Regions from separate parts of the Homo sapiens genome. Here regions 2, 3 and 4 are each linked to region 1. Evidence: promoter capture Hi-C in 16 types of primary human blood cells and fetal thymus (Javierre and others, 2016). All regions are on one chromosome and are shown on one strand. Each heading gives the region's core, a stretch centred on a gene start or on the middle of the fragment in contact. The rest is flanking DNA. Distances are from core to core; before and after follow the strand shown. Region 1 holds the start of MTIF3 (mitochondrial translational initiation factor 3). Region 2 holds the start of HSPH1 (heat shock protein family H (Hsp110) member 1). Region 3 holds the start of SPATA13-AS1 (SPATA13 antisense RNA 1). Region 4 holds the start of USPL1 (ubiquitin specific peptidase like 1).

Region 1 (2,753 bases), core at 105-2,604:
ACTTCATTTCCTAAACCCCACTCGAATCCATCCAGTCCTCTCCGTATCCACTGTCACCACCGTCAGTTTAAAACATCGACCACCTCGTTTGGATTCCTGCCAGTCTCCTAACTCGGCTTGAGCCCTGGCAACCAGTTCCCACTGCACTGCGGTCACTACACCCAGGACCTTCCTCACCTTAAATAAAACTGCCCCGAGATTAAAGATCTACACCTTCGCCAGGCCAAAAGGCCCTTCCCACCTCTCCAGTTTCTTCTTTATGCCTAGGCCACACTGGCCATTCGGTTTTTGAAATACAGTACTCTCGTCCTTGGTTTAGGAAACGCCAGATCCTTAGCGCATTCTTCTGATTACCTTCCAAACTAAGCCAGTTCTCCCATCCCTCCCCCAATTTACTGAGCTTAACACTGAATGCTTCTACAGTCCAGTTGACCTTTCCTTTAAAACATTCATTACAATTACAGTTTTGTGATGATCTTAGCACTGCTGTTCTCCATCACTAGACCGTAAACTCTACGAAGCAGGAACAAAATGGACTTATTCGTTACTGTGTTGTGCCTGACAGAATGAATAGTAGTCGATTTTCAGATTCTTCTCTCCATCCTCTACTTTTCTAAGACTTAGGCCTTTCACAACACGTACTTGAAACTGAGACTTCTCAGTAAGAGAACTTCGTTTACTTGGTTCAAGTCTTAAGCCACGGAGCCCACTAAATGACAAATGAGAAAAAAAATCCCAGTCACTTCGCGACCTTCCCCCATAAGGCCTCCTCCCGCAACAGCAGGCAGCAAGAACAACGCATTTGTCCAGCATGTCCTGCGCAGGCGCCCTTCGCCTGGCTCGCTCTGCCCCACCTGTGCCAGGCAGTAAGCCGCAAGAGCACTTCCGGGAGCCCCCGACCCGGTTGTTGGTAAGTCGGCGGCGACGCCCACCTGCAGAACGGGACCGGCGGAGCGCCAGGGCTAGAGACGGGACGTAGCGACGTACTGCGTGCGTGCGTGCGCACAAACGAGGGCGCGCATGTCGGGACGGAACTAGAAAAGCTCAGTGGGGCTGGCGGCAACTCTAGGTCTAACATCCCTCGGAAGTTCGTGCAGCGGCCTCGCTGAAAATGGCTTTACAGCCCGGCAGAACCCTCCGACTCCGCAGCAGGACCTGCGGAGCCTCTCCGCCCTCGGTACCGGCGGGACGGGGTAGCCCTGACCTTCCGGGTGCCTCCTCCACAGGGGCGCCCCCTAAGGCCACGCCCTCCCGATGCCGGTCCGCGCACCGCTCCGCACGCCTCATATTTAGCATTACCTGTGCTGGGGCAAGCGATTGACATACTGTAGCGGACGCAAGTACAGCGGATCTGCGGCGAGTCCCCTTCGCTCTCCGTAGTGGGCGGGGCTTCACCCCGCGTCCTTTAAAGGAAAGGTGATGGGCGGAGCCACGTTTTTCTACTGTTGGGATTCAGTTCCGCCGACAGAAAATGCGGAGAACGCGGAGGAAGTCCCTGAGGGGAAATTGCTGCTCACCTGGCTCCCGCTGCTCCGCAGGTGCGGTGAAGGCTAATGTCGAATTTCTGCAGCAATCGGAGCAGCCCTTACTCCAGTTACATTAACACCAATCTCGGTCTCCCACTAGGGCTTTATAAATTGCTTTCATAAACGTCTTTTTAATGTAACACTGAATAAAATGTTTTATAAGCGTCTTTTATAAGGATCGTAAGTGAAAGGGCGCTGTCTCCGATTTGCAGGTGAGCAGACAGCTTCGGAGTGAGAACGGCTCCCCGCGGGTCCCCGGTGGCGCGCGGCTCCCGGAGGCAAAACAAAGCTGGGGCCGGGGCGTCGGAGCCTCCGCGTTGTAGTTGGGAGAGGTTCGAACGGGGCCCCAGCTGGCGAAAGGGAAAACGGACCCGGACCCGGACCCGTGGAGCCTGCTCGAAAGCCGGGTGCTGGGGGTCTGGGCCCCGTGTCCCCCCTCTTTTTCTTCTTCAATAAGAAATTCCTCAAGGGCAGACTGCGAGTCCACAGTCGTGAAGCCACCTAATCTGGCTTCATACCTGGAATGTTTGGATTCCTGGTACGAAGAAAAACTAACATTTATTGGCTACTTGTCCACTGGAAGGCGTTGTCTTATTTCTCATTAACTCCTTGAGTCAGCATTACGTCTTTTATTACAGATGACACAACTACTAAAGCTTTAAATAGTTCTTTGGGAGCAAAGACGAAATCTCCATTTCCTTTTTAGCTGCTGGTAGCTCGACGCTCACTGTTAAAATAGGGAGGTAATGAAACAACTCTTGTGTGAGACCGAAAGTCCAGGTGTGCATCTTGGCCATTTCCAAGTTAATCAAGAAGAATTAAGGATTCATTTTATTCTATCAAAATTATTTCTCAATGCCAAGATATTTTGTGTGACGTAGATTCGGGGACAGACTGAGTAGCACAATACCTGGGAAAAGTTAGGTGCTCAGCAATTATAATTGCCCACATTTGTGATTGCTTTTGCCTATGTGCCAGACACTGTTCTACGCACTGAACATATCTCAAGTTATTCAATCTTCAGGACAACCTTATGAGCCAATTATTATTATTACCCATTTTACAGATGAGGGAACTGAAACAAATTTGCCCAAGGTCGCACAACTAGTAGCAGAATCAAGAATAAAAAAGCCAAAAAACCCCAAACCCAGGCAAACTTTAAATGTTCCTTGCATTGCTAGACTGAAGTAGTGAGAGAAACAGTAAACAGTACGAGTCCATGAAAAC
Region 2 (2,753 bases), core at 173-2,672, 3.7 Mb after region 1:
ACATTTGAAAAAAATTAATAGGTACAGTATTTTCCTTGAGATGAAATCATTTGTTTTCATCAATGCACATGCAGATATGTTTGTATATATTCTCGTCCGAAAATATCCCTTCACGAAACTTGCTTTTTAAAATGTTGCCCTTTGCCCACCCTATGCTCCTATAGAATATTTAGTTCAGTGACGACATCCATCCTCTTTTGGCGTCCTAGCACAAAAGTATGCAATTTTTATTCTCTTTTAAATAAACTGTGCAAAATTAATTTTAAAAATACGGTTTACAATTCCTCATGAATGGCAAAGAGCAAAAAAAAAGACGTTTACATCTTTCGACAATGATCCCGGGCATTAAGGCCAACAATGTTAGCAACGAAGAGACTGGGTAAAAAGAGGTGGGCTAATCTTTCATAGGACTGCTTCCGTGGTCGCTAACAACAATCCGCCTGCTCACTGGACAAGCAGCGACACAAGCTCTGGAAGCTTCCAGTTCATTTCGAGATTCACAATGCGGAAGAAAAAGGCCGGCAGCCCCGCTCCGCGGTGCGCAAAGATATGCGCGAAGGGAGGAGGACAAGCTGGAGGCGGCTCAGCCAGCTCAGAGAGGCCGGGTGGGGATACGGGGGCGGCCGCGGAAGGCGCAGGCTGCAGCCTGCCAAGAAAAGGGAGCGAAGTTGCGGGCTTTGCCGCAGCCCGACCCCCAGTAGGTTTTGAAAACCCCCAATAGGAAGCCCGCACAAGGTGACGACCCTTAGAGTCTCGACTCTGGGACTCCTCTCACCCCCGTGAATCCCTGAGACAATCCCTTCTCCAATTTGTGATGGCAAGCCCCCCATCCCTCCTCTGGCCGGGTCGCTGGTCCCTAGTTCCACGGAGGGGTGCGCCGCTGCCCAAACGCCTCCGTTTGCCGCGGTGATCCGTACAGCCAGCCCGCGATCTTGGGTCCCCACACTAAGGGCCCAGAACCTCCTCCCATCCACCCTCGCAGACTCCCACTTACGGGGTGCACCGGTCGCTGAACTCATTGGCGATGGTCTCGATGCCCCCGGCCCGGGCTACCGCGATGTAGCAGCTCTGCGAGCCCACGTCCAACCCCACCACCGACATGGCCGGCTCGCGGTCCGCCTCCGCCTCGGGTCTCGGTCTGCGTCCTCCGGCCCCCTGCCTGCTTCTCCTGCCGCCGCTTTCTGCCCTGGCCGCGTTCTGCTCCGGCCCGCGGGGTCTGGCCGTTCCTCTGACACTCAGAAGGACACACAGACAGCCGCGGCCTGTCAGGAGCCTCCTACTCCCCCGGGGACAGCGGCGGCTGGCTGATAAGAAACCCTGGGAGAAAGCGGGGCTCAGCCTCCGCAGGTCGCTCCGCACCTCGGGTTGCCTGCCTCACTCTGCCGCGGCTCGCACACCGGCGCCGGCGCTGAACTACCGACCCAAAAGGGGAGGTCCCACTTCCTCAGCCTTATGTATCGCACTGATCAGAACTTTCCAGAATCTGCGGCATTTACTCACCGGCGCCTCCACCGGCCCCTCCACGTGCCACTTCCGCTTCCTTCTTCTCGAGCCTTCTGGAAAGATTCTACCCAATGGGCAGCCGGTCCCCGGAGAACGGCCGCCGTTGCCATGGCAGCGACAGGGCCGCTCCCGTGCCATTGGCTCAAACCTGCCTCCGCCCACTCCCGCCCTAGCCACAGGCGTTTTGCTGCCCTAATAAAACAGGCAACGAAGAATGACTCCAAAACTCGGAATAGTCACAATTTACTACCGGGAGGTGGTGTCCGATCCTTAACGCTAAAGGGAGGCTGGGCGGGCGGAGACAGACCCCATTTTTGCAGAGACCCCAGACACCGGGATGGTGGGGAGGCCGGCCAGCTGTCCGGAGAGCATGTTGGGAATCGTAGTCCCGCTGGGAGAAGTGTGCGCCTTGCATGCTGGGATGTGTAGTCCTGGCCGCAGTGCTTGCTGGGACCCGGCTTTGTCTTCTGGGACTCGCGAGAGAGGCTGGGTAGGGTTTTGTCTGGCGCTTTTGCGCGGGTTCCCTGGCAATAAGCGTCATTTTGTTCGTTTGTTTTGTATTCACTTCTATTATTGTCTGGATTACCCCGACAACTGGTGCGTTACGACTTAGGAGAAGGAACACCAGTTCAAACCGCTTATAATAAAAGCAAAGGGGTTGTGTTAAGTGTTCTTGTATTCATCAGGCAGCAGGATGATCTCTTGTGGAGTAAAATGTCAGGTGTTTTTTTTTTTAAGAAATCGATTTTTAGTTGTGACGTCATTTGGCAGGCTGTCCACGGTATCACTTTCTGCTTATTTTTAAAAGGTCTGATTTAAGCCGACGCTGTTCTACCCTGCCACTCCTAGCCATAAATTGGTACTGTGTGTAAGTTTTGCTTTTTGTTTGATCTGAAGCAGCTTTTGTTTCTTTCCCTCAGAAGCGATGTCCCCGTTAACTTTTGTTCAGTAAAGAGACAGTGTAAGAAAAGGTGGAACTGTGTTGCTGATAACTTATCAGGTCTTTTATACCCTTTTGTGTCTTTTTAAGTTTGCTTCTGATCCCTGAGTTTACCTTATGTCAGGCATGTGGAAGTATAAGCACAGTTCAAATATGTTATTGGATAAGCGTGTAATTGAATAAGGAGTTGTAACCTAAAGTTAGAAAAATCTAACTCATAAAGAGTATGGGAATTCCTCCTTGTCTATCAAAACAAGTTGGTTAAGTCAGAGGCAAGACGAAAGGCCCAGGTTTACATTACATGTAAATT
Region 3 (2,753 bases), core at 164-2,663, 3.2 Mb before region 1:
TATAATAAGGAGTTAACTTATTAGGAGTTAGTGACTGTCTTTCTGTCACTCACCCAGGGGTTCAGGTCCCAGGATGGAAGATTCAGCTGTCCGAGCTTAGGTGATATGTCCACCACCTGGTGGTACTGGAACAGGAAGAAGGGTGGGGTGTCTGTCTCCAGGGACCCTTGCCTTCTATATGTGAAGACAGGCCAAGTAAGTATTTAACAGAGCAGACAGTACTATAAAGAAAAATAAAACAGGATAGAGAGCATTCATTTCCAAAGAGTGTTATTCTAATGACACTCTAATGAACAGGATGCACCTGTTCCATGAACCCTCTCTCTCTTCCCTAGAAGGAGACACCCAGATCCTCATCAGTGGCAGCAGACACCTCCAAGTCTAGGACCTCTTAGGATAACTAGTCCTCCAGTTCCATGCAGTGCCTCTTCAGCGTTGATTAACTAGAGGCAGATTTAAGCAACACATCCCTACCAGAATGGCAAGGCAGGGAAAGGAAGGAAATAGAGAATTTGGGATGCTGTGGAGAATAAAACGTCATGCAAAGTTTACATTTCAGCATTTGAACAGATTCCATAAGTCAATATGTAGGATGCACCAAGGCACCAGTGACGGCCCTGCAGAAGATGACTTTGGGTAATGTGAGGAGTAGGAGCAGGTGGGGGAGATAGCCTCCTCTCCAAGGAGGTGACGCTGGGGACAGGTGAGTAGGAGGCAGTGAGGCAGAGATCCGAGGGAGGAGAAGTCCTAGCCGAAGGAGCACCAGAAGCCCAAAGACAGGCAGGAAACATGATGTGTCTGAGGTTCAGCAAGGAGGCCACAGTGACAGGAGCTCAGGGAGCAAGAGGCAGACGAGGATGTTGCAGGCTGGGAGGTGGGCTGAGGCTGGAAAGGGCTCTGCAGGTCATGAGGAGGCTGAGCTTGTTCTAAGTGTGGTGTGAAGCCATTGGCAGCAGGAGCATATTATGTTCCGGTTTATGCTTAGAGAGGGAGGGCAGTTTGTGGGGGGAAAGGAAGAGGAATGGAGATTGATTTGAAGGCGATTGCATTAGTCCATTTGAGAAATATGGTAGCAGTGACCACAAAAGCCATCCCCATTTTCCGTGGGTGCTCATTTTCCCAGTGGTACGAAGAGGCAAAAATGGCCAGCCTTGGTTCTGATTCACTGTGGCCAGGACTGTGAACTCTGGAGGAAGTACTTCTCCCTTGGGCACTAAATTCAGTTTCAACAGAGCAGAGTTCCTAGGTGGGAAGAAAACATTTTGCAAGTATATTATTAAGTAATCCTAAGAAGCCGCTTCTATGTTTACCCTTGGTTTCCGGCCCTGCATCTTCTGCTGTGGGCCAGCCTCTCCAAATTAGTCACTGCTTCAGAGCTTGCGTCCCATCCAGGGCAGTATGGCAACTTCTGGGTGTGTCTCCCAGCTGCCTCTGTAACTTCATTTTTATTTGGTTGTTATTGGGTGTGATGGGGTCATGTGCTTCCTTCTCTGTGACGTTCTGGGCCTGGATGGCGTGTGAGATGCTGCGACAGGATAGGGGCCTTCTAGAGGATCCACAGAGTGCAGGAAAACAAATCCAAGCCCAGCATAAGTGGCCCTTCCAGTAGGGACAAATCACCACCCCCTCTATTATGAAAAGGCCCCACTGCAATCAGCTTTCCGCAAGGGGCTGTCTGGTTCCTGCGGGGAACCGTATCATCAGCTTTGTTGAGGGGAAGGCCCAGACTTCCTGTGGTTTAGCCCAGGCTTGGCATCCATTTTTGCCACCATGGCCTTTTTCTTGCTTGCTTCTTTTTTTTTTTCCTTTTTATGAACCCACTGAGCAAGTATCAAGATGACTAGGAAGGAAGACTGGCATCTAGCTGCACATTGGGACAGCATGTCCACATGATGATTGATTAGCCTCTCTTGCAATAAGGATTCATGTAGGATGGACATCATCTCATGCTCTGCGGGTATTCTGAGGTAGCCAGTTATACTCCTTCCCCAAACCCATCCTCAGCCCATCTTGTTCTTTCCACATTCCTCCAGGCCATTCAGCCAGGCCATTAGCTCCTAACCAGGAGTGCGCACGAGCTAAATCCTTGCCTTGCCAAAGCCATCTCTCCTACTCAGAAAGGCTTGGGAAGAGTATTGCTTACATTTGCCGCCGGGAGTTTCCCTGTCCTGAGGACACAGTCACCAGGCTGATGGTAGGAGTTCTCTTTGAGAAGCTAGGAAGAAGACTTGTAGTAGGATGCCTACCCTGAGGCTCCCTGGCTCTGCTCCATCAAGAGGCCTGAGTCTGGGAGTTGAGTGAGGGCCCTCCCTTGTCTTCTCTGTCATGGTGGCTCAGGTCGGGCTCTGCTTGCCAGCCCTGGAGAGTTCCTCCTACACAATGTTGTGGTACCTTTGTGGAATCACTCATCTGTTTTGTTCCTGGGGACCCCGAGATCAGTTAACAGCACAACCAGAGATTTCACAGGTCAAACCATTCAGATGACCAAGCTGGCCCTGCTGTGTGGTATAGTAACTATGCCCACCTTTTTCCCATGACAGATGTCCCACCCCCATGGAGGACCAGGTTTGCATTGCAGTGGAACCATCTCTCAGCAGCATCTCTGGCCTAGAGAGATTAGCAGTACATTAATTATAAAAGCTGCTGTCACATGGGAGATGCAGCCCAAGGGGTGGTGAGACTCACATGATAGACCATCTCTAGCATTTCCATCCCAGTCCTGGAACTCCTTCCTTTCTATGCACTGAGGGTTT
Region 4 (2,753 bases), core at 187-2,686, 3.2 Mb after region 1:
TAAAAATGGAAGTAGCAGTGGTGAACAAGAAAACAACCCTCTGAGTTTTGTCTATTTCAGGAGGAAGTACTACTTTCTCCAATTTTAATCACAATTCATAAAAAAGAAAAACCTAACTAGCTAGATCTTAAATATACAAATACATTAACAATCTAGTAAAGCAACAGAAAAAGGTAAACAAACTAACCAGCCTATTTTTGTCTGGAGAAACCCCAACAAACTGCTGGATTCCTTGGCCATTTGCATTCAGAAGTACCAAAAACTAAAATCCTTTTTACTAAATAATTTCTTCTACACGAGACTTGTTTCCTCCACACCACCCTATCCAAATTGTCAGCATTATTCCAGAATATAATCATTTAGTTTGAGACCACTAAAAAACCCCGCAGTCCAAAATACCAATTGTGGTTTTTCTGTAAAGAAATGGTCAGAAACTACAAATTGTTATCCTAGGACACAGAACCAATCGACCAAAAGGACTTCTGGAATATGCTGCCCCCAAGATTTAGAATGCACAGGCAGAAATAGCATACGCGGTCACGATGTCCCTTAAGCCACATGACCTTCCTACGAAAGCAAAGGCTTAAACTTATCAAATGAGAACTCCCCCTTTCTCTGAAGTTAAAACAAGGCAGGGCAGCTGGAATTAGAGCAGCAGGGACAGATCGGCTGTTGACTAGTCAGAACGGGTCGTGGAATGCAAAGTCCCTGCGCTTTCGCTGCTCCCCTTACCGTGAGAAGATCTGGGAGGGAGGAAAGGAGGAGAAACACCCCAGAATCCTGGTAGAAAAGCCCCTGGCCTCGAAGATGGGCTCTAGGGAGACAGGGAGGGGCAGCTCCGTGTGTGATGACCCTTTGTGAACATGCACTCTGTGGCAGCTTCAGCTCCACCGAGGCTTTGGGAGAGCGGACTACGGATGCCCGGCGCGGCCCAGCTGTGAAGGCCGCGCCGGCGGAGAGGGTCCATGGCACCCCCGCCGGCTTCGGAAGCCCTTCCCTCTCCCACCTCCGCGGGTCACCCCAGGAACCAGCGGCTCCCGACCACGCTCGCGCGGACCACGGAACAGCGACGCGCAAGCAGGTCTCTTTCGTCAGCGTAATCCCTCCGCAGAAAGCCGCGCACTAGTTTTAATCACGCCCCACCCCCTGGCCGCTGGCGCCACCTCCGCCACTCGGGCGCTTTCCAGCAGCTTCCAGAAACGTCGCCTCCCCAAACCCAGCCACTCACACATGGCGGGCTCAGCAGCCACCGGCCCCGCCCCTCCTCGTCGCCGCAGTCGCAACTGCGTCTGCGGCCACAGGGCGGACAGCCACGCCTCTGCGGAGGGCGACCGGAAGTGCTCACGTCTTCACCTTCCCCGCCACGCCACCGTCCTTTCAGGCCCAGCGTGCAGCAGGAAGGAGGACTCTTTTGCCGCGGACTCAAGCCGGAAGCCGCCTTCCTAGTGGAGACGCGAGTGGGGGAGGAGCAGTCCGAGGGGAACGTGGGTTGAACGTTGCAACTAGGGTGGAGATCAAGCTGGAACAGGAGTTCCGATCGACCCGGTACCAAGAAGGGGAGTGCCCGCGGCAGGTAAGGGAGAAGAGGGAGGGGTTTCTTTCCGCTCTCGAAATTGGGAAAAGAGACAGAGCTGGGATGACCTATGGGGTAGTCGGCGCGCTGAAAGGATGGGCTGGGCTGGGACGGGGTTCAAGTGGGAAAGGTTGATGATTAAGGTATAGAGTTGGACTTACAGATCCGTTTGGGCGCAGAGAGGTGAACGCTGAAGAGAAACCAGAGTTTGTTTTCGTTTTCCAAGGAGCGTGGAGATGGGCAGGGTTAACGGACCCTGCGCCTCCTTCGGCTTCTTAGTTTGGGTGTTGAAACTCACCTCCTTTGGTCCTGTTCGTCTCTGATTCAAGACAGTTGGGTTTGGTACCTGACAGGGCTGGGTGCAGAAAGCTGACCCTGTTCCTCGGCTTCCAGGTCGGTTGTGGCCTCGCTTTTGACAGTTCACGTGCCGAGCCTACTCGCTCTCGGAGGGCGAGCTCAAATGGGTGGGTTTAAGGCCCCCTCTTCGAACAGCTGTTTCCCTGGGTTTCTCCATTTTGCACACAGGAGTGTGAATTAAGTTTAATTGAATACTTTTTGCGATTCCCAGGGCCACCTTGACACGTTCATTGTGCTATCTAACTGGGTTCATGCTGGGCTAATAATTCACATTAAGGCTTCTGGAGTATAAGTGGTTCACAGAAGTATGAAAAGGGGATGTTAGAAGAAAGATGCTGGGGGTGAAGTAGAGTTGAGGAAGACAGAACTGGAAAGCTAGGTTGGTTTCACAGTACAATGAGCTTTAGGTCATAATACTACCTTTAGGTTATATTGGGCTGTTTGGACGGAGTTTGCTGTAATCAGGCTAGAGTAAATAGAGAATTTTAAACTAAGCATTGACAGGCTCAGACTTGTAGAGGCATCATTTTGACAGTGATATGGAAGGGAAAGAGGTAGAGATTTGAGACCTTTCCAAAGAACTGTCCACAGAATTTGGTGACTTACTGTGCGAAGAGGGAAATAAAGAATAGGGAACAACTCAAGACTTTCTAGTCTGTGTGTTTGGAAGGATGGAGACGCCCACATTTAAGTGAGATATGGGAAGGAGGAGCAGATTGTTTTTGAAGGGAGGAAGAGCAGTTACTTAGGGTCAAATTAAGTTGTAAAATCCCCCCCGGGATTTTGTATGTAAGTCAAAGTGAATTGTATTTGGAAGAAGAAC

What was found. The method cuts DNA at HindIII sites, captures the fragments that hold promoters and counts their contacts. A CHiCAGO score of 5 or more calls a contact.
Region 2: a contact is called between the fragment with the promoter of HSPH1 here and the fragment with the promoter of MTIF3 in region 1, in 1 of 17 cell types (non-activated CD4 T cells). The highest score is 6.4, in non-activated CD4 T cells.
Region 3: the fragment with the promoter of SPATA13-AS1 here is called in contact with the fragment with the promoter of MTIF3 in region 1 in 1 of 17 cell types (non-activated CD4 T cells); the score reaches 6.5 in non-activated CD4 T cells.
Region 4: the fragment with the promoter of USPL1 here is called in contact with the fragment with the promoter of MTIF3 in region 1 in 3 of 17 cell types (non-activated CD4 T cells, naive CD4 T cells and fetal thymus); the score reaches 6.5 in non-activated CD4 T cells.

What each region holds. Positions count from the first base shown.
Region 1 is chr13:27,449,210-27,451,962 of GRCh38, forward strand. MTIF3 (mitochondrial translational initiation factor 3) reads right to left here and starts at 1,355. Exons shown (of 5, transcript NM_152912.5): 1 at 1,300-1,355. RefSeq lists enhancers at 592-1,506, 1,350-1,709, 1,730-1,789. The HindIII fragment of the contact is 2,682 bases long and covers 1-2,180 here.
Region 2 is chr13:31,160,482-31,163,234 of GRCh38, forward strand. HSPH1 (heat shock protein family H (Hsp110) member 1) reads right to left here and starts at 1,423. Exons shown (of 18, transcript NM_006644.4): 1 at 995-1,423. The coding sequence starts at 1,101. LOC105370148 (a long non-coding RNA gene) reads left to right here and starts at 2,179. Exons shown (of 3, transcript XR_941825.3): 1 at 2,179-2,753. RefSeq lists enhancers at 517-1,062, 1,063-1,608, 1,220-1,299, 1,430-1,549, 1,780-2,049. The HindIII fragment of the contact is 12,297 bases long and covers 476-2,753 here.
Region 3 is chr13:24,253,026-24,255,778 of GRCh38, forward strand. It overlaps SPATA13-AS1 (SPATA13 antisense RNA 1), which reads right to left and starts at 1,414. Exons shown (of 3, transcript NR_046531.1): 1 at 1,311-1,414; 2 at 54-174. The region is part of intron 4 of SPATA13 (spermatogenesis associated 13); the gene reads left to right. The HindIII fragment of the contact is 5,552 bases long and covers 1-2,753 here.
Region 4 is chr13:30,616,484-30,619,236 of GRCh38, forward strand. USPL1 (ubiquitin specific peptidase like 1) reads left to right here and starts at 1,437. Exons shown (of 9, transcript NM_005800.5): 1 at 1,437-1,573. It also overlaps a transcript of HMGB1 not described here. RefSeq lists enhancers at 835-904, 925-1,064, 1,115-1,444, 1,465-1,514. The HindIII fragment of the contact is 4,577 bases long and covers 1-2,753 here.